Linked DNA regions of Homo sapiens: all the other regions are linked to region 1. Evidence: promoter capture Hi-C in 16 types of primary human blood cells and fetal thymus (Javierre and others, 2016). All regions are on one chromosome and are shown on one strand. Each heading gives the region's core, a stretch centred on a gene start or on the middle of the fragment in contact. The rest is flanking DNA. Distances are from core to core; before and after follow the strand shown. Region 1 holds the start of PRKCH-AS2 (PRKCH antisense RNA 2). Region 2 overlaps HIF1A-AS1 (HIF1A antisense RNA 1). Region 3 overlaps PRKCH (protein kinase C eta). Region 4 overlaps PRKCH (protein kinase C eta). Region 5 has its middle 4.2 kb from the start of HIF1A-AS3. Region 6 overlaps PRKCH-AS1 (PRKCH antisense RNA 1). Region 7 overlaps PRKCH (protein kinase C eta).

The links. Contacts are between HindIII fragments. The CHiCAGO score rates a contact against its expected background, and 5 or more counts as called.
Region 2: a fragment that was not itself captured here is called in contact with the fragment with the promoter of PRKCH-AS2 in region 1 in 13 of 17 cell types (neutrophils, activated CD4 T cells, naive CD8 T cells and 10 more); the score reaches 32.1 in neutrophils.
Region 3: a contact is called between a fragment that was not itself captured here and the fragment with the promoter of PRKCH-AS2 in region 1, in 1 of 17 cell types (activated CD4 T cells). The highest score is 9.0, in activated CD4 T cells.
Region 4: a contact is called between a fragment that was not itself captured here and the fragment with the promoter of PRKCH-AS2 in region 1, in 1 of 17 cell types (activated CD4 T cells). The highest score is 5.3, in activated CD4 T cells.
Region 5: a fragment that was not itself captured here is called in contact with the fragment with the promoter of PRKCH-AS2 in region 1 in 12 of 17 cell types (neutrophils, activated CD4 T cells, naive CD8 T cells and 9 more); the score reaches 31.7 in neutrophils.
Region 6: a contact is called between a fragment that was not itself captured here and the fragment with the promoter of PRKCH-AS2 in region 1, in 6 of 17 cell types (total CD8 T cells, total CD4 T cells, non-activated CD4 T cells and 3 more). The highest score is 9.6, in total CD8 T cells.
Region 7: a fragment that was not itself captured here is called in contact with the fragment with the promoter of PRKCH-AS2 in region 1 in 1 of 17 cell types (activated CD4 T cells); the score reaches 7.9 in activated CD4 T cells.

Annotation. Positions count from the first base shown.
Region 1 is chr14:61,544,166-61,547,741 of GRCh38, forward strand. It overlaps PRKCH-AS2 (PRKCH antisense RNA 2), which reads right to left and starts at 1,319. Exons shown (of 3, transcript NR_188139.1): 1 at 929-1,319. The region is part of intron 12 of PRKCH (protein kinase C eta); the gene reads left to right. The HindIII fragment of the contact is 1,799 bases long and covers 1-1,646 here.
Region 2 is chr14:61,684,820-61,688,669 of GRCh38, forward strand. The region is part of intron 1 of HIF1A-AS1 (HIF1A antisense RNA 1); the gene reads right to left. Among named protein-coding and RNA genes, the nearest start is that of HIF1A, 8.8 kb to the right of the region's middle. The HindIII fragment of the contact is 7,656 bases long and covers 1-3,850 here.
Region 3 is chr14:61,399,302-61,403,494 of GRCh38, forward strand. All of the region lies in intron 2 of PRKCH (protein kinase C eta), which reads left to right. Among named protein-coding and RNA genes, the nearest start is that of PRKCH-AS1, 79 kb to the left of the region's middle. The HindIII fragment of the contact is 3,947 bases long and covers 584-4,193 here.
Region 4 is chr14:61,377,953-61,381,599 of GRCh38, forward strand. The region is part of intron 1 of PRKCH (protein kinase C eta); the gene reads left to right. Among named protein-coding and RNA genes, the nearest start is that of PRKCH-AS1, 57 kb to the left of the region's middle. The HindIII fragment of the contact is 2,366 bases long and covers 212-2,577 here.
Region 5 is chr14:61,753,458-61,757,130 of GRCh38, forward strand. No RefSeq gene overlaps it. Among named protein-coding and RNA genes, the nearest start is that of HIF1A-AS3, 4.2 kb to the left of the region's middle. RefSeq lists enhancers at 1,422-1,923, 1,528-2,727, 1,924-2,423, 3,126-3,673. The HindIII fragment of the contact is 3,776 bases long and covers 525-3,673 here.
Region 6 is chr14:61,300,244-61,304,162 of GRCh38, forward strand. It overlaps PRKCH-AS1 (PRKCH antisense RNA 1), which reads right to left. Exons shown (of 5, transcript NR_186042.1): 3 at 547-1,021. It also overlaps a transcript of PRKCH not described here. Among named protein-coding and RNA genes, the nearest start is that of PRKCH, 19 kb to the right of the region's middle. The HindIII fragment of the contact is 2,625 bases long and covers 498-3,122 here.
Region 7 is chr14:61,346,856-61,350,643 of GRCh38, forward strand. The region is part of intron 1 of PRKCH (protein kinase C eta); the gene reads left to right. Among named protein-coding and RNA genes, the nearest start is that of PRKCH-AS1, 26 kb to the left of the region's middle. The HindIII fragment of the contact is 534 bases long and covers 1,052-1,585 here.

The sequences.
Region 1 (3,576 bases), core at 69-2,568:
GTCCGTGAGTGATACCAGCCAGGTGGGAGGTGATAGGGAGTGGTGGGGCATGTGACTGACTGGGCATCTGGTGCCCCATGAAAAGCAGAAGCCCCTGCTCAACTCCAGGCCGTTTCTATGAGAGGAGTGCAGGCCCAGTGTTCCCGAGTATCTCATTTTCCACGAGAAGTTGGAAAACCTGACTTTTCATGTGATGTGACATTTCCTAGCGTTTAAATATTTGAGAAGTAATTAAAATTATTTCAAAACACACTAGGTAGGCCAAATAAAATGTGTCTGAGACCTAGGGCTGGTATCAGTTCTAGTCTGTCTCTGTCACTTTCCACAATCTAACCTGCCCTCCCAGCTTCAGTGGTTACTCAAATTTCAATGTCTCTGAGCGTTAGATGGCCAGCCCTGGCCTGCACCCCAGATTTACCCTAGAATTCATCTGCATGTGGGTGCCCACACACCTCCAATGCAAAGCGGAGCCCATCAGCCTCCCAGATTTGGCAGACTGTAGGATCTCAGTAAGTGTGAGCTATTTTTGTCTTTGTTCCACTAACAAAAATACTACTACTACTAACACTGCTACTAATACTCATGCTACAAAGAATAATCTCTTGCCCCTCTTTTGTTCCATTTCTGTTACTCAACACCACTGCCCCATCAGGCAGCCAGGGAGGACCCTGTGATCTTGGACTCTTCACTCCCATTCCCGGCAGTTAGTGGATTGTGTTTATTCTTCCACGGCCCTCTAGAATGTGCTTCCAACTCTTCCTTCCAATTAACTAGAAACTCTCCTAGTTGCTGAACTTGTCATGTGTTCTCAGCTATTGTCTCAGCCTCTAACTGCTCACCACCAGGCGCTACCTCTGCATTTAAGATTTATTCATCACGCTGTGGCTAGTGTCATCCCCTAAATTGCCGTGCAGCTCTCATCACTCACCTCGGATGGATCCCACCGGCTGCCCCCGCAGTTCCTCAGCCATCCCTGCATGCCAGCTGTACCAGGCACTTGTATGCCTCTGCATTTGTGCTGGCTGTGTCCTCAGGCGCATTTTCTTCCTTCATGCCTACTATGTTAATTCTGTTCGTCCTCATCTCTGGTCAAATGCCACCTCTTCCACGAGGCTGTCACTTGCCTTCCCACCACCAGCCCCAGTGTTATTTGCCCCGTGCCTCTTCCAAGCTCTCACAGCACTTGATCTAAGTCTCTTTTCATTTCATCCGGCTGTGTATTATGAAGTTTGCTTGATTCTTCCCCCTTCTCTTGATTAGCTCCTGGATGAAGAGACACTGTCTTTGTCATCTGCGTATCCCCAAGAAACCCCTAGTGTGCTGCCTTACATGTAGTAGACACCTTGAAAACCTTTGTCAATTGAATCAAAGTTTGTTTGTGTGTGTGTGTGTTTTGTTTTTTCTTTTGGTTTGTTTTTTTTGTAAGTTGAGGATGGCTGCATCTAAAGGGCTCAGGCCAAGGTATTAAAAACAAAACTGCTTGGTTATTCAAAAGGATTTATCAGAACCCCAAGAGGCTAAGTATCAAGCTAGTGAAAGGGTTATTCTGCCTGTCCCCAATTCCAAGGGTGCAGTTTTTAGAGGACGGACGGTCGTGTTTGGTCTACTTGTCGTCAGGCAAGGCCTCTTCCACAGTGCCCCATGGAAGCTTGGGTTCAGTGCCAGGGGCAGGGAGGAATGGGCAAGCCTCTTGGACACTGGGGCTTCAGCCACCCTGGCATATAGAGTCCTGCACTGTTTGTCTTGCCCAGAAGAACAGGCTGTACCCACCCATTCACAAGATGTCCTCTCTCACATCATTGGCAGGCCTGGGAATTTCCCACAGGCCATCTGGGTGTGTTCTGCCGTCCTGTCTCCCAAGTTTTTTGCAGCATTGTTTCTTGTTAATTAGCTCTTAGAATAGCAACTGCTCTTCCATCAGGAATTGTATCCCGTTGACTTTCCTAAGGCAAGAATCTACTCATTTCTTTTTTGTAAGCATTTTCTCCCTTCCTGCCTGCATTGCACAGGCTTACTTAGTGAGAGCCCAAGCAGTGTGAACTAACTCCTAGCTCTTACAGAACTGAGTTACTTATAATATGCATCTCCTGAATCCTGGGTGACCACTGTAAGTGCCTGAAGTGGCAGCTGCTCTGACTGGGCCTGTGCAGCTCTGAATGCTGCATTTACTTTTGGGTCCTGCCTCCAACCCAGAACCACCTGTGGCCTTTAATTCCTGTTACTAGGAGAGAGGAGAAGCGATTAAACCCTGTCAGTATATTCATTTATTAGCTGCCCTTTGAAGCTTTTTTGAAAGCATTTTACAAGGTATATCCCGTCAGGTTGCTTAGGAACTTTTGCAGCCTCCTTCTTCAACATTATCATTTTCATTTGAATCAACACTGGCAGCTTGACACCTCTGGACACCTGGCATGGCAGTGGGAGGTACCTCCAAACACTGTCTTTCCGTGTCTGCACCTTCAACAAGATTTTCTCTGTAAATTCAGCTCCAAAACAATTTTTATAAACACAGCATTACTTTTGTGTTGTTCACAAATCAGATTTGGAAAGAGGTGCTTGGGGACTGTCATGAGTCTATTTAAAGATAACCTGATTTAAATAAAAACAAAAACAAAACTTTTTATCCAAGGCAATTTTCTTTCAATATGGGAAATTAAATTAGCTTCAGTGTCTTTGAAATTGAGAACCACACTCCGGCCATGAAAAGTGAATTATCCTGTACTAATCCTTGCTCAGGAAGTGATCAAAACACCTTTCCTGGCTATTTTGTGAAAGCAGATTTAGCCCAGCATATTTTGATAGGAGCCCAGCACTAAGGAAGTTTCCCAACTGATGGAAATACAGAGAATCTCTATGCACACATCGCTTAGCTGTGTGGCAGCGCTCGTTTTAGTTTTTGGTCTATGGAGCAATGGAATCTCAGTCATTGAACCTACTTCGAAACAGCAGTGGTGGGGGGAACATCTTGAAGAAAAGCCTTTCATCTAGAGCTATGATATCTTCGCTGCATAAAGAAAAGTGGCCAACTTTGTTTTTTCTAGAGCCAGGACACAGACCTTTTCAGTATGTCACCTTTGCTGCTTCTTCACACAGATCTTCAAAAATAACGACTCTCTCTCCTCTCTGTGGTCTCGTCAGAGAGCAGGAATCCTGGCCAGCTGGTCAGGTCACTCAGAAAAATGGCACAGCTGTTTCTGAAAGTAGCCCCATTCATAAGATGTCTGCTGCCCACAACTGCAGTGTTGGGGAAAGGCACACTGTTATAAAGAGCTTCTTTTCTTTAAAGAGGAAAGAAAAATACATGGTGTTTACAGAAAAGAAAACTGGACCCTCCTGCTTTCTTTTAGTGGCCATGTCTGAAATGGAAGTGGGAAAAGCCATAAATCCACACAGGCAATCGCGCCTTTAAGGCATGATTCATACTGACTGTGCTGCCTGTGATGGAAAACCCAGCTAGTTAAGCAAGACCTGCCAGAAAGTCTCGCACAGCTCCTCTGCCATGGCTGATGCCTGCTGTCTTGTGACGTGCTGGTTGTATGTGAATGAATGATTGACACTTTCTCTCTCTCTCACTCA
Region 2 (3,850 bases), core at 625-3,124, 140 kb after region 1:
GAATTAATGAATTATAAAATGATATAATCTAAGTAAGTTTACACATTGTATTGTCTGGGATGGGAGATAGAAAGCAGGCAAAGCCAATTCTTTTTTTTGTTTTTTCAGGATGGAGTCTTACTCTGTTACCCAGGCTAAAGTGCAGTGGCGCAATCTCGGCTCACTGCAACCTCCACCTCCCAGATTCAAGCGATTCTCCTGCCTCAGCCTCCCAAGTAGCTGGGATTCCAGGCACACGCCACCATGCCCAGCTAATTTTTGTATTTTTAGTAGAGACGGGGTTTCACTATGTTAGCCAGGCTTGTCTTGAACTCTTGACCTCGTGATCCACCCGCCTCGGCCTCCCAAAGTGCTGGGATTACAGCCGTGAGCCACCGCGCCCGGCCCTGCAAAGCAGAATCTTAATAAATATCCTTCTCCTGGTAATTTATTTATTTATTTTGAGGCAGTGTCTCACTCTGTCACCCAGGCTGGAGTGAAGTGGCATGAGCATGGCTCACTGCAGCCTCAAACTCCTAGGATCAAGCAATCCTCCTGCCTCAACCTCCCATATAGGTGAAACTACAGGCACACACTACCATGCCTGACTAATTTTTAAAATTTTTTTATAGAGATGGGGTCGCACTATGTTGCCCAGACTGACTTCAAACTCCTGGGCTCAAGCAATCCTCCCACCTTGACCTCCCAACGTGCTGGGATTACAAGCAGGAGCCACCATGCCTATCCTTTTCTGTTTATTAATATACCAACTTACAGCTAGCTACGCTATTTACTCTTCAGCTATTGAAACTGATCATTTTAACAATTTAAAATTAATTTTATGAGTGAAGAAATATATTGAAATCCTGTAAGTGTCTGAATCAGGGGAGACTATTACCATTAATTTTCAAAAATGCAACTCTGTTCTTTGTTATGTCTTCTTTTTCTAGAAATGTAATATCTTATGGAACTGTGGCTTTTAAGAATCTTCCAATTGACTTTGATGTTGGAGAAATACCAAATATCATTTTCCTTTCTAGTCAGAATATAGTGAATGGGATGTTTTATTAAGGTTTATTCTTACACATCAACCCTTTTGCTTCATTCAGAAAGATAGGAAAACGTGACTTTGGTTAAGAAAAAAAGGGGGATATTCATTTTGAAAGTGGCCTTGGATTAATTTTAAAAAAGGTATTCAGGCCAGGAGCAGTGGCTCAGTGGCTGACGCCTGTGATCCCAGCATTTTGGGAGGCCAAGGCGGGTGGATCACCAGGTCAAGAGATAGAGAGCATCCTGGCCAACAAGAGATAGAGACCATTCTGGCCAACATGGTGAAACCCCGTCTCTACTAATACAAAAAAATTAGCTGGGCATGGTGGCACGCACCTGTAGTCCCAGCTATTTGGGAGGCTGAGGCAGGAGAATCGCTTGAACCCGGGAGGTGGAGGTTGCAGTGAGCCGAGATCGCACCACTGCACTCCAGCCTGGTGACGGAGCGAGACTCCATCTCAAAAAAAAAAAAAAAGTATTAGTTTTTTTCCTTTTAATTAATAGACTTTATTTCTTAGAGCAGTTTTAGGTTTAAAGAAAAATTGAACAGAAGGTACAGAGAATTCCCATATACTCTCCCTTTCCTCACCACCCCCAGACTCATGGTTTTCCGTATTATTGACATCTTGCATCAGTTTGGGACACTTGTTACAACTTATGAACCAATATTGATACATGATTATTAACTAAAGTCTATAGTTTGTATTAAGGTTCTCCCTTAATGTTGTATAGTTATATGGGTTTTGCCTAATGCATAATGTCACGTATCTACCATTTGAGTACCATACAGAATAGTTTCACTGTCCTAAAAAATCCCCTATGTTCCACCTATGCATCCCTCCCCTCTTCCTGTTAATCTCTAGCAGCCACTGATCTTTTTACTAGCTCCATAGTTTTGCCTTTTCCAGAACGCTGTAGAGTTGGAGTCATACAATATATAGGCTTTTTGGATTGGCTTCTTTCACTTAGCAATAAGCATCTAAATTTCCTCCAAGTCTTTTGGTGGCTTGATAGCTCATTTCTGTTTATTGCTGAATAATATTTCATCATATAGATACAGCACAATTTGTTATCCATTCACCTATTAGCAATTCTTGATTGTCTACAATTTTTGGCAATTATGAATAAAGTTGCTATAACATTTGTTAGGTAACATATGAGTTTTCAACTCATGCAGGCAAATAACAAGGAGTGCAATTGCTGGATTGTATGGTAAGACTATGTTTAGTGTTGTAATACACTAACAAACTGTCTTTCAAAGTGGCTATACCATTTTGCATTTCACCAGCAATAAAAGAGAGTTCCAGTTGCTCCACATGCTCACCAGCATATGGTATTATCAGTGTTTTGGATTTTAGTAGTTTAAGAGTGTAGTGGTATCTCATTGTTATTTAAAATTTGCAATTCCCTAATGACATATGATGTAGAGCATCTTTACATATGCTTGTCTGTCATCTGTATGTCTTTAGTAAGGTTTGTTCAGATCTTATGCCCACTTTTTAACTTGGTTATTTATTTTCCTTTTGTTGAGTTTTAAGAGTTGTTTGTATATTTTTGATACAAGTCCTTTATCAGACATGTGTTTTGCAAATATTTTCTCCCAATGTGTGGCTTGTCTTTTCATTCTCTTAGCATTGTCTTTTGCAGAGAAAAGGTTTTCTAAATTTAATGAAGTCCAACTTAGCAATTTTTTCTTTCATGAATTATACTTTTGGTGTTGTATCTAAAAATTCATTGCCAAACCTAAGGTCAACCTAGAATTTTTCCTATGTCATTTTCCAGAAACTTTATAGTTTTCCATTTTCCATTTAGGTCTAGAATCCATTCTGAGTTAATTTTTGTGATAGGTGTAATAAGGTGAGAGTCTAAAGTTAATTTTCTTTGCGTGTGAATATCTAGTTGTTCCATCAGTATTTGCTAAAAAAAATTATTCTTTCTTTATTGAATTGCCTTTGCTCCTCTGTCAAAAACGAATGGCTATTTTTGGTGGCTATTGTTGTGTGGGCTTATTTCTGGGCTCTAAATTCTGTTCCACTGATCTATTTGTCTGTACTTTTGCCAGTACTACACTGTCTTGATTACTGTATGTTTATATTATAGCCTTGAAGTAGTAGTAGTGTCAGTCCTGTAAATTTGTTCTTCTTCAATACCATACTGGCTATTTGGTTTTGCCTTTCCATGTAAACATTAGAATCAGCTGGTTGATATCCACAAACTAAGTTGCTGGGGTTTTGATTTGGATTGTATTAAATCTATAGATCAACTGGAAAAAGAACTGACCTGTTAATATTGAATTTTCCTTTCCATGAACATGAACTATTTCTCCATTTATTTAGATTCCTTTGTTTTCTTTCATTCGAGTTTTGTAGTTTCCCTCATATAGATCTTATACATATTTTCTTAGATTTATACCTAAGTATTTCAATATTTTAGTGCTAATGTAAATGGTAATTTTTTTTTTTTTTGAGACAGAGTCTTGCTCTTGTCGTCCAGGGTGGAGTGCAGTGATGCGATTGCGGCTCAGTGAAACCTCCGCCTCCCACGTTCAAGCAATTCTTCTGCCTCAGCCTCCCGAGTAGCTGGAATTACAGGTGCCCGCCACCATACCCGGCTGATTTTTGTATTTGTTTTTAGTAGAGACGGGGTTTCACCACGTTGGCCAGGCTGGTTTCAAACTCCTAACGTCAGGTGATCCACCCGTCTCGGCCTCCCAAAGTGCTGAGATTACAGGCGTGAGCCACCATGCCCGGCTGGTATTGTGTTTTTAACTCAAATTCCAACTGTTCCTTGCTGTATACAGGAAAGAAATAGACTCTTGTAC
Region 3 (4,193 bases), core at 1,307-3,806, 140 kb before region 1:
CTTAAACAAAAACCAGAATCTGGGTTATGACATCAAAATGATGCTTGAACTTGAACATTTTACCTCTTTCCACTTACAAATTAAAGCTGGAGGGTTTTTTAATGTATATGTTTTATCCATGATTCTCAGTTTTTATGTATGATGAAAAAGTAAGTTAAAAATTTTAAATGACTAAAGTACTGTGCTTCAGAAAGACTTTTTTAAATTGCTAAATAAATAATAAGCTGTGAGTCAAAAACTGCAGGTAGGAACAGGTGAGTAAGATAATTCCTTTTGTTCCGTCATAAAGTTCTCACTCACAGTGAATGACAAGTAGATTATCTCCTACTAATAATTACATAACATTTTGCAGTTGCGAAGTTTAATTTTAAGGTAGTTTCCTAAAAGAATAAAGTAAATCAGAAGGATTAATGGTAGAAGTATCTTTATAAAGATAGTAAGAAAAAGGTTCTTAGTGTACTTGTTTCTTCCCCAGAGTTCCCAAGGCAAACATAAAGGTATTCTATTTTGTACAAGTTTTTGGGGAAGGAAAACTTCCTCAAAAACAAAACCCTGACAAAGAACCTGTTATTTGTGAATTTGAAGCTTGTTTAGAAAAAAAAGGCCTTTTACTTCTGCTAAAACCTTGAATTGTTCCTTATTTGAGACATTTAATATGTAACTTGGAAAAGATATACATTTGTCCTGGGGAGACAATGGAAAGGCACTTGAATTTTGGCATCTGCTTTTTCTCTCTACTAAGGCAGTGCACAATGGTGCAGAATAAGAGTCTGATCTTTTTCTTTTTGTCCCATTGCCTCAGTTTTTAGCTCACATTTCTTGTCTCAAGCCCACTGGTTTACAAATAATTACGTTCTCTGCTAAGTCATGTGGCACATGGACCATCAAGGCAGATGAAGCATGTGTTACTGCTTTGAAGCTGCAGCCCACAGTTACCCCCTGTATCAACACTTCAGATGCATGTCATTTTTAAAGAGAAAAAGTGATTTCTGGTGGTAGTTGATTTATAGCATTCCTTTCTCAGATTTCAAGCCTGGTGACAAGTTGTTGATTTAATTTTTTTAAAATGTAGCTTTAAAAAAATTTATTCTTTTGGCATATTAGCTTGAAGAATGAGTGACCACTTTAGTTTTTGTGTTTGTTTTTTGCTGGTCTAAGCAATTGTGGCTATCAGGTTGAAGACAGGGTAGGAGAGAAAGAAAGGAATTGAGGGAATGGGAGAATAGGAACTGGAAACGGGCGAATGATGTTTTTAAAGGATTGAGACTAATTGTCCCTTGTCATAGATGCTCTCTCGTCTTCTCCATAATATCTAGCTCATTTGTTGAATGCCTTCTGAGGACCAGACACTGGAGTTGGCTTGTAATTTAGCAAATAGCAATGGGAGCCCTCATTTTATTTTCTGGTAGCAGGATAAACTCTTACCTAGTAACTGAGTACCTCTACGTGTTCATACCATGCTATATATTATTCCATTTTCTCTCTATAACAAATTTCTGAGGCTGTTGTAATTCTCAGTATGCAAATGGTGAACCAGACTCAGAGACGCTAATTTACTATGGTCTTTCCTGGATAGTAAGTGCCAGAGCCCAGACACAAGCTCAGATTGCAATGCTGAGGTCCAAGATCTTTCTACACCATCCAGCTATCTGAGGAGTTGGGGGTGGGGGGGCAGCATTTTAGTTTTTTTCTTTATTCCATCTTAGAGGAAAACTGTCCTCAGGATAGCATAATCCCACCCTCCAGAGAGTCTTGTCTTTTGGGATGATGTCTTTTTGCAAGGCTTCCCTTGAGTTCCTCCTCCTTAAACTGGAGGACCAACATTCACCCAGGAAAGGTGCAGCATTCTCAGACATCAGGCATGGATGGGCCAGAAAGCTCTAGGCAGATTGAGTTTAAGATTTGCTCAGGTTTTGTTGTCAGTAGGTTCTCTTAATGTACATCTTAAGCTAGAACTCAGAAGATGAAAATACAATCAGTGAGTTCAGCATAGGTATGATAGCTCTATTTGCCTTTTTATACCCCAGTCATCATTGGCTTCACTGTACCTACTTCTCTTATTTTGACTGACTGTAAGTGAAAAAACTAGGTGGTGGCTTTGTTGGAAATTTTAAAATTCATTCTCAAAGTGTGATCCTGCAGACTTCTGAGAGTTCCAGAGACATTTTCAGGAAGTCTGCAGTTCCAAACTGTTTTCCTTATAATACGAAGATTTTATTCATCCTTTTTTCCCCACTGTGTTGACATTTGCCCCAATGGTGCAAAAGAGAAATGGTGGGTAAAAGCATGGCACCAAACTATAAAGTCATCATTGTATTCTTGATGGCCACGTAGTTGCAGGAGGAAGAAATCTAGTTTCACTTAAGAATGTCTTTGATGGAACAGTAAACATTATTCATGTTATTAAAGGTCAATCCTTGACTATATACCTTTGTAACATTCTGTGTGACAAAATGGGAAATATGCTAAAAGCATTCCTGCTTCATACTGAAATACTGTTGTGTCTCAAGGAAAAGCACTTGTGTGATTGAGTTGTTAGCTGAGCTAGCCACTTTTTGCATGGAACACCATTTTTACTTTGAAAGAATGACAGACAAACCATACTGTGGAACTGGCAGATTTTTCAGACATTGTCTAAAAAACGAATGAACTGCGCCTGTTACTTCAGGGAAAACAACTGTAAGTATTTGGTGCCAGTGATAAAATTAGAGCCTTCAAAACATAATTCGAATTTTGGAAAGTTTATATCCACCATTGTGAGCTTGACAACTTCCCAGTACTTATTCTTTTCTCATGAGTTTGTTGTTATTAACGATTGTAATTTTTAAAAATTGTGTTATGAGATATGTCAACATTTAGAAGATGACTTCCAATGATTCAGTGAACACGTATTTTCACAATGGCCAGTACGAGATGTTATAAAATCATTTATGGGTCAAGGATCTCTTGAAAGCGTAAGGTAGACTCATGTATATTAATTTAAAGTATGAAAAGTTCATTGATACAGTTTTATATTGCAACCAACTTTTGAGAAACTACGCCTTGTTTACTTTTGTGTGGTATTAAAGAAGAATATCTGCAATTATCTGAAAAATCTATTAAAATTATATTTTTAAATTACTCTGTGTGAGGCTGGACTGTATTCATGTACTTCAACTAGAACAACATTACAGTGGCTTGAATACAGAAGCAGATATGAGAATCTAGCTGTCAGGCTGGGCGCAGTGGCTCACGCCTGTAATCCCAGCACTTTGGGAGGCCGAGGCGGGCAGATCACGAGGTCAGGAGATCAAGACCATCCTGGCCAACATGGTGAAACCCCGTCTCTACTAAAAATACAAAAAAAAATTAGCTGGGTGTGGTGGTGCGTGCCTGTAATCCCAGCTACTCGGGAGGCTGAGGCAGGAGAATCACTTGAACCAGGGAGTCAGAGGTTGCAGTGAGCCAATATTGTGCCACTGCACTCCAGCCTGGTGACAGAGCGAAACTCTGTCTCAAAAAAAAAGAAAAAAAGAAAAAAGAAAGAATCTAGCTGTCTTTTTTTTTAATTAATTAATTAATTTATTTATTTTATTTTTATTTATTATTATTAGACTTTAAGTTTTAGGGTACATGTGCACAATGTGCAGGTTAGTTACATATATATACATGTGCCATGCTGGTGCGCTGCACCCACTAACTCATCCTCTAGCATTAGGTATATCTCCCAATGCTATCCCTCCCGCCTCCCCACTAGCTGTCTTCTTTTAAGTCAGACATTAAAGAGATTTGCAAATTGTAAAATAATGCCACTCTCTCTATCTTTGGGGGGATGTTTGAAAATGTAGTTATATTTTATTAAAATGTGTATACTAACATGTAATGGAATTGTTATTGTTTTTAATAAATGATAAATATTTTTAAATGTCTCCATTTAAATTTCTAATTTGACAAATATCAGTAGAATCCATTCAAAGGGGTACTTGGACCAAAAAATTTTACAATTTCTAGGTTATTTTTTTCTTACATTCTTTCAAAAGCCCAGTGCTTTAAATTTTAATGACCACAGGGAGAAGGAACTGACACATATTTGTGTATGTTATAATCAGAAAAAAATATGTACAGTTAGGTGATACAGGTGACAGAATTGTCATTTTTTTGAAACTTTCTTTTTGTTTCTGATTATTTCTGCTGTGCAGTGTACTTTTTCAGCC
Region 4 (3,647 bases), core at 145-2,644, 170 kb before region 1:
ACAGTTCTCTGGGTGTAGCTCTTTCTGTGTTTTGCCTCCAGCCTTCTCTCTTACTCCTGTATGGACATTCCTCCAATGACACTGATCAAGTGTGTGTTCTGATATTAGTTCTATCACTTCTCACAGGTTGCTCCTGACTCAGAATGGTCTCACTTCCCACTAATTGAAACTTGCCTTCAGGCCTCAATTCAGGGTCTCACTTCCCAGGTAAAGCTTCGCCCTAGCCCAGTGATTGCTCCTCTCCTAGGGCTTTTTTTTTCTTTTTCTTTTTCTTTTTTTTTTTTTGAGACAGCATCTCTCTCTGTCACTTAGGCTGGAATGAAGTGGTGTGATCACTGCAGCCTCCAACTCCAGGGCTCAGGTGATCCTCCTGTTTCAGCCTCCCAAGTAGCTGGGATTACAAGCATGTACCACCACATCTGGCTAATTTTTTTTATAGAGATGGGGTCTTATTTTGTTGCTTAGGCTGTTCTGGAGCTCTGGCCTCAAGTGATCTTCCTATCTTGGCCTCCCAAAATACTGAGATTACAGATGTGAGCCGCCACACCCAGCACTGAATAGTGCTTTTGATGTTGCCACTGACCTATTCAGTTGAGACCGCATTGGGTTGTAATTTGTGGTGTTCCTCCCTCTCCATCTGAATTTTCAGAAGCTGTTAAGGACAGCCCAGTAGATGCTCAGATGTCATAGGTAAAGGTCATACATTGAACTCTTTGTCTTTCCTCCAGTTCTGCTTCCCCCTTGGAGTCCCTGTCTCAGTTAATGGCACCAGGGATCATCATTGCCTTGTGATTCTGACTCCTTCTCTTTCACCTCCACCCTACCTGCATCAGTTACGAAAAGTCCAGCTGCTGCTCCCTCCTATGTCTTTCTCCTATCTGCCCTCTCCTCTCCATCCCTTCTACTGCTGCCTTAGCTCAGGTCACCACTGTCTTTCACTCAGACCATTGGACTTGCCTTGAACATGAATTCCCACCACCAGCTTCTCTCCTCTTATAATCCCAACAGTTATGTATCGGGATCTGACATGTAGGTATGACCTTGTAACTTTCCTGATTGAAACCCCTCAGTGGCTCCCCATTGCCCTGGGATAAGGACCAGCCTGCCAGCATGTCGTGAGGCCATTATTGATTGGATGCACTTTCCTCTGCAGTCCTATTTCTGACTTGTCTCATTTACACAGCTTACATTTGATCATCTGTAACCCCTATACATCTTCTGTGCATTTGCACACTCCCCGTCTCTGTGTAGATGCCCCCCCTCCCCAGGTCCACTTGGAAAACCATCACCTGAATTTCTAGGCATTGTACAAACGTTCCCTCTTTTGTGGAGCTTTCGTCTCCTTCCCTCCAGAAGACCAAGAGGAGTAAAGGTGTTATCATAGAATAACTGTTGGGATAGAGATATAGGCTTCATCTATTTTCTAATGCCTCCTCAGATTCAGAGTCTTCCAAAGTTTCCCTGCAGACTGAGCAATGAATAATTAAGCAAACAAGTCTCTAAAACATCTTGAAATGCTTATGTATGCTAAATATGTAGTTTTGAGTTCTTGTTTTGGTTTTGCTGGAGCTTTTGCCTTCTTCCTCCATTACAATGGATGATGAGAATCAACAATGTAGAATTATTCTCGGTTAGTTTATATCTTGTTTTTAACCTGGTATCTTCAGTGTGTTAAGACATTTTTCCTTTCTTGTGGGGGTTCCCCTGCAAAGAAGGAGGCTCACTTGTGGGGCCGATGACCACTGTCTCTAGGCAACCCAGAGAGGTGTGAAAGAAAGAAGGGGGCTGTGAGGCTGCAGGGAGTATATTCCCCATCTCCAGCCAGGGTCACACCTGTCACTTCTGTTTAGTACCTCTTCCTAGTAAGGAGAACGTATGCTCCCTTTCTGGAAGGGTCTACTTAGCAGAAACGAGGAGTGGCGAGCTCATGTGGAAAGTGCTTTTTTGATGTGTTCTTTCATGTAGGGGACACACGGTGTGGAGGGGATGCACAATTACTCTTCTGTGGTTCCTCTTTCTTACTCCAGGGTCTCCTTTGCCATGAGGTCCCTAGGGACGTCTTATCAGAGGAGAAGAAAAGTACCTTCTTAGTTCTTTTTTGTTTTGTTTTGTTTTGTTTTATTATGGGGTTTCACTTTGTCACCTGGGCTCTCCGGGGTGCAGTGTTGGAATCGTGGTTCATTGCAGCCTTGACCTCCCAGGCTCAAGTGATCCTCCCACCTCAACCTCCCAAGCAGCTGGGACTACAGGTGCATGCCACCACACCTGGCTATTTTTTATTTTTTATAGAGATGAGATCTCCCTGTGTTGCGCAGACTAATCTTGAACTCCTGGACTCAAGTGATCCTCCTGCCTTGGCCTCCCAAAGTGTTGGGATTTCAGGTGTGCCTTGGCCTCCCAAAGTGTTGGGATTTCAGGTGTGAGCCACTGCAGCCAACCCCTTCTTAGTTCTGGAGAGCAGAGTCTTGCCTGGCATCCTGGTGCTATACCAAGAGTCCTCTCCTGGTTTCCAGAGAGGACATTTGACTTCTTCAGGAGAACTCACCCCACTCCTTTTGGTCCATTAGGAGCACCAGAAGCTTTGGACCTGATGGGCTGGGCTTGGTCTCTTCAGAGCCTCTGTCCTCATTCACAGAGGAGGTATCAGGTAGGCCTTCCAGCACAGAATTACATTACCTGGGAATTTAAGTGGGAGGAATTGCAGTGGAGTATTTTGAAGATCCTAAGGCATCCTTCATTTAATTTACATTTTCGATTCTTCAGATATTGGAATCAAAGATTGAGACACACACATAACACTAGAGCACACAGTAGACCATTTCTACCTTGAGCTATCTCCTTGTTAGAGAAAAAATAGTTTTGACTGTTTGTGATTTTTTACTACGGGCAGAAAAACTTTGAAAAATTAATTTCAATGTAAAAGAGTTTTACTTTTGCCAGATGATAACACTTCCTATGCTAGAACCTGGGGGTACTGGGATCTGACTTGAAGTAATTCTAAGTTTAAATTTATAGCAACCATGTGGGTCTGTTCAGCTGGGAGGGGAGAAATATTGCGAGCCATAAGGATGTATTTTAGAGAGTTTCTTTAGTAGTCTTCAGATGTCTACTTGCCCTGTACAAAGTTCAGAAACTGTTTAGGACTTGGAACCTTAGAATATCAGATAGAAAAGGATTGACAGGCTTAGTCTACTCTGTTTTTGAGATGCCGAAGCCAGGTGACTTCCCCTAGTGGCAGGTAGGCAATGTCAGAGTTGTGATCATGGCCTGGGGCTCTTTTCCAACCTGCTCTCTGACCTCACATAGGATCCGGATTGAGCAGGGTAAAGGGTGGACCAGTAAAGGCTTTAATCAGTAAAGTAATGACAGTGTTTTCCTTCATTTGAAACCAGTCAGATTTGATACTACTTTTCTGTTCAGTTTTTGCCATCATTGTTTTCTGGAAGTTTTTAATCTGTAATACCTCTTAGTATGCTTTAACACATAACACCTAGTGTCATTGTTATAGAGATGAAAGTAGAAAATTAGCAGGGATGTAGTATTTGCCTATTGCAACTTCTTTTCCTTTAAACCCCTTCCCATGTCGGGGGGATACCTTGTGTGTCTGCAGCATGTGATGCTGACTCGGACTCTCCAGGCAGCTGACT
Region 5 (3,673 bases), core at 1,163-3,662, 210 kb after region 1:
ATATATAGTCTGACACAGTCCTTTGCTTTTCTTAAATTATAATTATGGAAACTTGAACATGTACAAAAGTAAAGAGACTATAATGATGCCAAAGTGTCTTTGCAATTTGTGTTCTCTGGGAAGTAGACTCTGAGATGGAGATTTCAGGTGATTTATTGGGGAGTGCTTTTCAACACATGTGGAAGAGAAAGAACAGAAGTAGGCAGAGGGAGAAACAGCTGAGGAGCAGTCCCAACAAAGCCTTTAGCAGCCACATGGGGAGCTCTGGAACTGCAATAGCCCTTGAGACTTGTCCCAAGTTACAGGGAGTATGGAGGCCTTTACACCCCTACACTGATCAGTCCCTTGATGTGGGCTGCCCCCAGGAGACATGACCTTTAGTAAGGCAGGTTTCTTCACCTGAGACAATCCCCAGAAAGGGCTGACAGCTGAAGACCATCTTCTGCTGCACTTCCAGCAGCTTGGAGAGTAAGTGGTTCATTCCTGAGACATCTGTGTGTCATCACAATATCACCCACAGTGCAAGCTTTAACAGGGGTCAACTCATGGATGATCTTTTTTTCAGCTGTACCTCTACATACACGCACACACACACAAGTGTACCCATTATTTTGGTTTTTGGGTTTTTGTGGGTTTTTTTGAAATTGAGTCTCACTGTGTCGCCCAGGATGGAGTACTGTGGCACGATCTCGGCTCACTGCACCCTCTGTCTCCTGTGTTCAAGCGATTCTCCTGCCTCAAATTTTTGTATTTTTAGTAGAGATGGGGTTTCACTATGTTGGCCAGGCTGGTCTCAAACTCCTGACCTCTGCTGAGCCACCTGCCTTGGCCTCCCAAAGTGCTGGGATTATAGGCGAGAGTGAGCCACTGTGCCCGGCCAATAGCTACTAAATTTTAAAATTACTTTTTTCCTGTTAACAAAAGTAATCATATTCCTTGTAAAATGTTATAAAGATACAGAAATGAATTATGTAAGAAGTAAAGTCCTTTGGCACTCCACCTCCAAGGACAACTACTGTTTTACATTCATTATACTGTTCCCATTGAGAACATTTGAAATATAGAAATAACATAATCATAGTGAGAGAGAAAGGGCAGGTCTTTAATTTTCCTTTACCACCTTGGAATGTAAATAAATGGTTCCAAGTGAGAGAAGTCTCTAGATCTCTTCCGAATTTTCTTCTTTAAGATTGATATCTAGTTATCCTTTACTCAAACGGTTCAGGAGCACTGAGAAATCCAGGGAGAAAAATCTTCCAACTCAAGGCATTCCAGGCCTTGAGACCTCTTGCCTATTTGTCCAAATTCTGCTAACTTCTTTCCCTTGCGTCCTGTGTCCCAGTGATGTAACCTTCTAACACGCTCTCTGACCTCTTTGTCCTTTGTAGTTGCTTTCTCTCTGTGTCTGCAACACCCTTCTTATTTCATCTTCATCTCCTTAATTTCCTGCATTTTTCACAACTCATTTCTACTTTAGAAAGCCTATCCTCTCAGGGACTGGATTAGGAGATTCTCCTCAGTGTTCCCATTTTGTGTGGTGTTTAACTCTTGCACGGTATTAATCACACTAAAATTGTACTTATGTACTTGAAGTGAATTGTTCTGTACTAAATGATGAGCAACCTGAAGATAGGAGTTATGCCTTTAAATGCATACCTAGCAGAATGGCAGCTTAAAGAGCTCTGTGGCCTCACTCCCCATGAAACAACTGTAACTGGTGAAGCACTTTAAAAACAACCATTTAAAGTTTATTGAAACTGCCCAAAGGTTATACAGCAAATGAAGAACTGTTTATTCAAGAAAATCTACTACATCTTGGTAAGAACAGCAATAGTTAGTCAGAGGTACTCTCAAGTACCATGCCTCACATGCCACTCCTCACATGCCACTCATGCCTCACATGCCACTCATGCCTCACATGCCACTCATGCCTCACATGCCACTCATGCCTCACATGCCACTCATGCCTCACATGCCACTCATGCCTCACATGCCACTCATGCCTCACATGCCACTCATGCCTCACATGCCACTCATGCCTCACATGCCACTCATGCCTCACATGACTTGCTGCTTCTACCACCTTGCCCACCTTGAGGAAAGTTCCACACAGGTGGGTATGGCCAAGAAGATGGGGCTCCTTCTTCTCCCAAATCCCAGTAGAGGACTATGAGCATTTTGGTCACAACCATTTAACCAGTCTTTAGGAAATTCCAAACTTTCCCTCATCTTCCTGTCTTCTGAGCCCTTCAAACTCTTCCAGCCTCTGCTCATTACTCCTGTGCTCATTACTCTATGAAAGGAAAATAAATCTCAGAACCACAAAATCACTAAACCAAGGGAAAAGTCAAGCTGAGAACAATGTCTTATTTAGGAATAAAACTTCTAAATGAAGTTGTCCTGCCTAATCGGACCAAACCAATGTATATCTTACACATATTGATTGATGTTTCATGTCTCCTTAAAATGTACAAAAGCAACCCAATCACCTTCAGCACATGTCTTCAGGACCTCCTGAGGCTGTGTCACCAGTGTGTCCTTAACCTTGGCAAAATAAACTTTCTAAATTGATTGAGATTTGTTCTAGATACCTTTTGGTTTACAGTTTGAAAGCCACTTCCACATCTTTGTAGCAATGCCTCAATCCTGGTACCAATTTTCTGTGTTAGTCCACTCGTGTGTTGCTATAAAGAAGGACCTGAGGCTTGGTAATTTATAAAGAAAAGAGGTTTAATTGGCTCATGGTTCTGCAGCCTGTATAGGAAGCATGGCACCAGCATCTGCTTGGCTTCTAGTGAGGCCTCAGGAGCTTCCAATTATGGCAGAAGGTGAAGGGGGAGCCAGCACATCTCATGGTGAGAGAGGGAGCAAGAGAGAGAAAGAGGACGTCCCAGACTCTTTTAAACAACCAGATCTTGTGTGAACTAACTGAACAAGAACTCACTTAGCACCAAAAGGATGGTGCTAAACCATTCGTGAGGGATCCACCTCCATGATCCAATCACCTCCCACCAGGCCCTACCTCCAACATTGGGAATCACATTTTATCATGAGATTTGGAGGGGACAAACATCCAAACCATATTGTGTATCTCCCTGGAGGGACAAGCTGCCAGCATTTCTACCCGCTCTCATGTTCTGTTGCAAAGGCTAAATTCCAGATGAGTGTGGCCTGGAGAATGGAAAGACTGGGGACTCCTTTCCTCCTTTCAGACTGCATTCACAGAGCAGTGGCTCTATCCCAGGTGTAGCAGACTGAGAGTAGTGGAGCCCCAGTTGCCCTTATTGCAGCTCACATATAGGGTGCGAGTTCCAAGCAAGGACAGGCAAGCTGAGAAGAATGAATGGAAGCTACTTCCCCCTTGCAGAGCCTTGCTTATAAAGCAGGAGAGTCAGCCAGGCGTGGTGGCTCACGCCTGTAATCTCAGCACTTTGGGAGGCCGAGGTGGGCGGATCACTTGAAGTCAGGAGTTCAAGACCAGCCTGGCCAACATGGTGAAACCCCGTCTCTACTAAAAACACAAAAAGTTAGCTGGGCATGGTGGCGTGTGCCTGTAATCCCAGCTACTTGGGAGGCTGAGGCAGGACAATCACTTGAATCCGGGAGGTGGAGGTTGCAGTGAGCCGAGATCGTGCCACTGCACTCCAGCCTGGGGAGCAAGAGTGAAACTCCA
Region 6 (3,919 bases), core at 560-3,059, 240 kb before region 1:
GATATGTTTTCTTAGATAACATGTAACAGGAAGGGAATCAAATTCAAAGGAAAAAATGTTTAAATCATCTTCTCAAGACCAATAGTATATTCTGACTGAAAGAATCTCCATATGACTATCATTCAAGCACTTGATGAAACAGAATTTATTGAGCACCTGCTAAGCCTGGCAATATGACAGGCACTGGGAAAATGAGATAAAAGCACAGTCTTATGTTCAAAGATCACAATGTGGGGTAGAGGAGAATAACTATATTTAGACCATCAGAACACAGTATACAGGTGCTGTAAGGGAGATGTATACTGGGAGACAAGGGAACAGAGGGAGAATTTAAATCGTCATTGATATAGGAGTTAAAGAGAAATATTTAGGCAGATAGTGAGGGTAAGGAAGTCCTTGGTAAGGTTTTCCTTTTAATGAAAAGTAGCCCCCAAATCCTTCCTTTTCTAACAAAAGCAGGCTGAAAAATCGAGCTGCAGACTGATAAGCAAGCTGCAAGCTTGCACGGGTGAATGGCTGGCAGCTGTGACAATAGGAAAAGGCTACCTGGGGGCTAGGCATGTTCAGCATGGCAGTTCCATCTTCCCTTTTGTCAACCTTGTGAATGGTAAAGAACAGAAAACGTGGCACTGGCAAGGTAGAAAATCCATTTGCAGAATAAAAGATTAGGGTGGGGTGGTCAGCTTCTTCTCCTGTTATGTAAACATCACACCTGGTCCAACCGATCTTTGGGCCCTATGTAAATCAGACACCACCTCCTCAAGCCAGTCTATAAAACCTGTGTACTTCACCATGGGACCGGAAGACCCACTCAGGCGCCCCGCTCTCTCTGCAGGAGAGAGATTCTCTTTTCTCTTTCTTTCGCCTATTAAACTTCTGCTCTTAAATCCACTTCTCGTGTGTCCATGTCCTCGATTTCCTGGCTGAGAGAAGGAACCTCAGGTATTTACCCCAGACAATGACTCTACTTCATCATGGTGGTTCCAGAAAAATTACACTGAAGAAGGTTCACAAGCTAAATCTGGAAGGATGAATCAGTACAGTCATTATTATCATCACTGAAATAAATATGATTGGGTTTGAACTTTGGAACTTTTATTCAGAAGGAAAATAAACATTTTTCAAATAAAGTTGTAGGATATGTTTTGCATTTTAGCATATATCGTACCTAAGATATCTCAGGGGACTTTTTTACTTCAATTATATTTAAGATTTAAAATGTCAGAATGTTTCACATTTTGTGTTTATGTCATAGTTTTTGGCATGCAACTTATATGCTCAAGGTAACGTGTGCATACAGTGAAATGTACACATCTGTTCAGGCACTGAGGCTCATGCCTATAATCCCAAAACTTTGGGAGGCTAAGGCAGGAGGATTGCTTGAGCTCAGGAATTGGAGACCAGCCTGGTCAACATGGTGAGACCTTCTCTCTACAAAAAATACAAAATTAGCTGGGTGTGGTAGTGTGTGCCTGTAGTCCCAGCTACTCAGGAGGCTGAGGTGGGAGGATCACTGGAGTCTGGGAGTTCAAGGCTGCAGTGAGCTGTGATTGCACCATTGCATTCCAGCCTTGGTGACAGAATGAGATCCTGTCTGAAAAAGAAGTACATATCTTAAAGGCAAAATTTTATGGATTTACCAAATGATACACCCTTGTAACTACCACAAAAAGTTTATGATATAGAATTTTTTTCATCATTCCCAAGAGTTCTCTCATGTTCTCTTTCAGTTGACATTCTACATAGGCAACCACTGACCTAGTTTCTATCACTACAGAGTTTTCCCTGTTCTATTTCTTTAACAGAGACAGGGCTATTCAGATTTTCTGTTTCTTCTTGTGTCAGATTTTTACATGTTGTATTTTTCAAGAAATGTGTCCAATTTATCTAAGTTGTTGAATTTATTGGCATAATGTTATGCACAATATTTCCTTATTATTCTATTAATAACTATGTGATCTGTGGCATAAAATGTAAGCAAATACTTACCATAAATCCTGCCTTAAGCAAATTATAGGCTGTGAAGCATATAGCATTCTTGCCTTTCCCAGAGGGGTCCACTTCAGTTGTTTTACACAGTCCTTCTGAAGCAGGACTTACATGCCTTTCTTTATGGCATATAAGCCCTGGGTCCGGGTTGGGGGAAAGTGTGGGGATCCACCATCTCATCTCATGGCTGCCCTAGACATGGCTTCTGTTCCTAAGTTCCTATTAAAGGTTTCTTTCTGAGAAAACGGATTTGTCAGCCTCTTTCTTCAACATCTCAGCTACCTTAATTTTGGGGGGTAGGTTTGCATAGACCTGCTGTCTATGGAACATCCACAAATTTTGATTTTTAAAATTATTATTCAGGCTAAAATATCTTTTAAATTTACTGTGATTTCTTCTTTAACTCAGTTATTTAGAACTATGTTGTGGGACTTCCAAATATTTGGGAGTTTTAAGATATCTTATTGTTATTGATTTCTAATTTCATTCTGTTATGTTTAGAGAGCATATTCTGTATTTTTCAATCCTTTGAAATTTATTAAGCCACATTTTATATTTCAGCACGAGATCTATCTTGGTAACTAGTCCATGTGCACTTGAAAATCGTTGTTTATTCTGCAGATACTAGGTGAAGTATTCTCTATTTATCAATTAGGTTAAGTTGGTTGATAGTGTTCAAATCATTTATATTCACATATCTATGTCTAGTTCTACAAAGTACATGTAGGTGAATTAAAAATGTTCAACTGTGATTACAGATTTGTATATTTGTTCCTTCAATTTTTTTTTTTTTTTTTTGAGACAGGGTCTCACTCTGTCATCCAGGCTGGAGTGCAGTGGCATGATCTGATCACAGCTCATTGCAGCCTTGACCTCCTGAGTTCAAACAATCCTCCTGCCCCAGCCTCTCGAGTAGCTACAGATGCTACAGCTACAGATGTCTATCACCATGCCCACCTAATTTTAAAATTTTTTTGTAGAGACAGGATCTCACTATGTTGCCCAGGCTAGTCTCGAACTCCTGGGCTTGAGCATTCCTCCCACCTTGGCCTCCCAAAGTTCTGGGATTATAGGCATGAGCCACTGTGCTGGGCCTGTTCCTTTAATTTTCATATCTTGCTTCTTATACTTGAAGCTTTTTAGTCACATAAACATTTATATTTTTTATGTCTTCATGATGAAATGACCATTTTTCATTAAGGAATGTCACTCTTCAACTTTGATAATTCTTTTTGACTTGAAGTTTGTTTTGTATAATAATAGTATATCAATACCAGGTTTCTTAGATTTGCTTGGTCTATGTTTTCCCTTCCTTTTACTTTCAACCTATCTGGATCTTTAAAATGCATTGCATCTCATGCCAAAGCTCTTACTTGAATCTTGCTTTTTATTCATCCTTGCAATCTTTTTCTTTTCTTTGGACTGTTTAGTTCATTTATATTTAATATAATTATTGATTTGGTAGGATTTAAGTCTATCACCTTGCTATTTGTTTTCTGCTTGTCTCATTTTTTGTTTGTTTCTCATTTCCTCCTTCATGGCTTTATTTTGGTTTATACAATATTCTTAGTATTCTAATTCATTTATTGATTTTAAAGTTATATGTCTGTATTTTTTTTTTTTTATGGTTGCTATAGGGCAGCATTCTCCAACTAAATGTTCTTTAGTAGTGAAAATGTTCTATGTCTTTCCAATATGGTAGACACTGGCTACCTGTGACTGTTGATACCTTGAAATATGGCTAGTACAACTGAAGACTGAAATTTAAATTTTATTTATTTTTAATTAATTTAAGTTTAAATTTAGTCACTTGTGGCTACTGACTACCATAGTAGTCAGCACAACCTTAACAGTCTGTTTAGAGTTAATATTATACTACTTCATGTGAAATGTAAGAATCTTACAATAGTACAATTTTGTTAACTCTGTC
Region 7 (3,788 bases), core at 69-2,568, 200 kb before region 1:
ATTATAGTAATGAACATTTAAAGGAGTTATTTTTCCAAAGCATTATAGTTTTTCACATCCATCTTTTCATTCCCTCATTAGCTAATGATGTTGATGTCCTCACAAGCATTGTTTAGGAATGGCTTAGGAATTTTACCGTATGTTTACTTTGGCTTGTCTGCTGCCCCTTGCTTTGTAATCTGTTCACCGGTGATTCAGTTGTTTCTTTGAGTCCCTTTGAAATTGCAAGTTGACGGGTGGGGACTGGTGGGGAAAGAAATCCAGAATAGATATTCCTAAAACTGTGAAGTGAAAATTCAGGAGAGACTGTCATAACTCTGCTTATTTAAGGTGGTTTGGTTTGTGCCAAGCTAAAGGAGGGAATATTGATTGAATTACTTTTTTAAAATGCAATTAATTTTTATTTAATTGTTTTCCCTGGAGTTGTGGGGTTGAGGTATTGCAGTTTAAAGCAGTTTGGATGTGCTGATAATTTTTTTCTGATTATCTTCAAGTCTCCATGGACAGTGTCACTGCAGGTCTATTCATGCTTTCGTTCCTCCTTTACCTGCCTTCATCTGCTTTCTCTGGGCATTGGTACCCATACCCAGGTGTGGTCAGTTGGAGTAACTCCTGCCTTGCTGGGCTTAACTGTGGTGTTTCTGGGCCTAAGGCAATTGGAACATCTGTAGTTTATTTCCTAATCCCAATTTTGTGGAGGTTTGTGTTCTAGCTTTGATTCAATTACTCCTAAGTAGTGGCCCGTATTAAGTAGAGGCTGTGTGAGACAAGACACTTAATGTAGGCCCCTTGGAGCTGCTGGGTCCTTTTCATCAGAATTTGGCTAATGATGCCTCTCTCTTTTTTACACACTAAAGCCTAATATAACTAGTAATGAACCTCATTAATAATTTGTATTGGCAGATGTGAGGTGTCACACATTAAAACTGTTTTACACCATGAGCATTGACTTCATTCGGTCAGTGAGGGAGGATGCAACCACCTTTGCCAAAATAGGAAGGAAGAGAAGACCCAGAGTTTTCAGGGAACGGAATTAAATAGCACTTTAACAAGCTTGGCGGAGGCAGTGGGGTGAGGAGAGGAAGTTAATAGGCCCAGGGAGGAGAGTATCTCACTGGTTTCTCCAAGCTGATTCTTCTGGGTGCCAAGAGAGCTGTGGAAACCCACAGAGGAATGCCCCGGTTCCTTTCCTTCCTTCTTTCTGGTAAGGGTTTAGATCTATTTATTTGATGGTCAGCCTTCCAGTTTTATCAGCACCGGTCTCTTTGTACAACTTCCCAAATGTACAAACTCCAGACAGATGAGTACAGTTGGTGTTTTCCGGGGAGGGTGTTGCTCCCTGTGGTCTGTCACAGCCAGAGAGCAGGGGGCCAGAGAGAGGACTGATTGCCCATATGTTCCACATGAGTCGTCAGTGGTGCACCCAGTTTTAAAATGCTCTGGGGGTGTGTGGCCATGAAGTGGATTTTGAATGAATAGAAGGAAAAAGCTCGTGGATGAAAACCATGAGCCATTTGAACCGTGTGTGGTGTCTGGAAAAACAGGTGGTCTGGCAAAACTGACAAAGTTTGCTTGGGGAAACAGAAGCTTTGCCTCCACCTCTGATGCTTGGGCTGGGATGAAATAAGCCACTTTTCTGTTTAGACTGTGTTTAGATGGAGGGAAGCTTCTTCAGTTCTTTATTGGGTGCAGTGAATGGCAGAACTTTTATTACTTGCATTCTTAATTTTAGTTAGCCATGCTGAGCTGGGTTTACACCCACCTTGGTATGTAATTTCTGTGACCTGTTCCGCTTCCTTCTCTCCTGTCACAGTCACCAAAAGCCACTATGGGTAGCCATTTGTTAATATCACCTTTATTAGGAGTCCTCCAGGCTCAGTTAAGGTCTCCCTCCATCTTTCCACCCCCACTATTTTATGCCTTCGTAGCCACTGGCACTCTGCCTTGCGGCACTTGCACATATTTATAATCAGTGAGTCACCCTCCTAGACTGTAAGCACCATGAGGGCAAGATCTGCAGCCCACCAGCAGCCTCTGCTTCCAGCACAGCACTTGGCACACAGGAAGCACTCTCTTAGTATTTGTTGTACTTGTCAGTGTTTGTTGCCTGAATGACACAGAAGTGTTCCCTGCTGGAGAAGGGATTCGAGTTAAATGGAATCATCCAGAGAATTTGATAAAATGATGATGGCTATCCGTTTATGCTCTTAAAAGTATGCACTTGAGACCTCTAAGTAGATGTTTATTTGTTTATCCCTTTCCAGGGTTCATGTGTTTATCTTGTTTCCTTTTGTATGCATTTTCTGCTTTGCCCCTCACATAGTAATTCTTGGAAGCAAGTAGATCATTGTTTCCATTTCAGTTGAGATCACTTTAGGGGCATGTCTTGGACTTGATGACAGATCTTCCACTATCTTATGCTCCCTACCTCACATTTATTGAGTACCTACTATGTACCAATCCTTAACATTTGTTATTCCAGTTTATCTTCCATCAGTCCTGTTGAGGTAGATATTGTGCCCCATTTTACAGATGAGGAAATCAAGGTTCTGAGAGATTAGATAATTTCTAGGAACATACAACCAATAAAAGGGAAAGGAAGAGTCTGAGTTCAAACCCAGTTCTTTGGTGCTAGGGGTACAGCTGCTGTCTGCAGGGCATGCCAGATGACACCTTTTTGACTCTTTTGGTAGGAAATGGGGAGGAATGCTTGTCACCTTAGAAATGCTGTTCGAGGTTGCTCACACCTGTAATCCCAGAACTTTGGGAGGCCGAGGTGGGTGGATTACAAGGTCAGGAGTTCGAGACCAGCCTGGCCAACATGGTGAAACCCTGTCTCTACTAAAAATACAAAAATTAGCCGGGCATGGAAGTGTACACCTGTAATCCCAGCTACTCAGGAGGCTGAGGCAGGATAATTGCTTGAACCTGGGAGGCGGAGGCTGCAGTAAGCTGAGATCATGCCACTGCCCTCCAGCCTGGGCAACAGAACGAGACTCCATCTCAGAAAATAAAAAAAAAAGAAATGCTGGTATGTCCAAGTCTGTGTTCACTCTTATGTTCATGGTTGTTTTACAAAAGCTGTATTTAGCAAGCACTCAATGACAAGTTATGCCAGCACTGTGCTTGGCATAACTTGGATATATAGGTGAATGAGGCAGCCATACAGAGAAATATGACAAGAGTATGTTTTAAATGCCCCAAAGAAGGTTTATGGAAGGTGCTACAGGAATGTGGAGCTGGGAAAATAACCATCATTTATATAGTGCTTTATATGCTGTCTCTTGCTTTTATATTTGCCCCCATTGTATTGTCTTTCTCTCTCACCTTTCCTCCACGTCTCCTCCCCTCTCCGGAATTTCAGGATTTGGATGCATGTGTACATTTAAGATTTGTTCTAAATACTTGAAAGCACGCTTGCTTGTTAGTTACCTGTCCAAAGCCTGTTGACTGCTGGGCCCCAGAGGAACACTAGCATGTGCCCTTGCCCCGCCTGTTTCTTTGTATACAAACAGTATACAAAACATAGAGAAGAGAACTGACAGATATTTAGATCTATGGGCTTTTATAGAAAATAAGAATTACTTTTCTTCTGTAAGGTCAGTGTTTACACCTTGTCTGCTTGCTCCATACTCCTCTAGAGACTAAAACACCTCATTGCTTCTCAGAATCATTTCTGAAACTGAGGCTAGAAATTACAACAGAGACTCTCTTCTCACCTCTTCACCAGCATCCCTTGCCTCTTAAAGTCACTGAAAGAATATCCCCCCTCCCCCATGGAGGGGTCA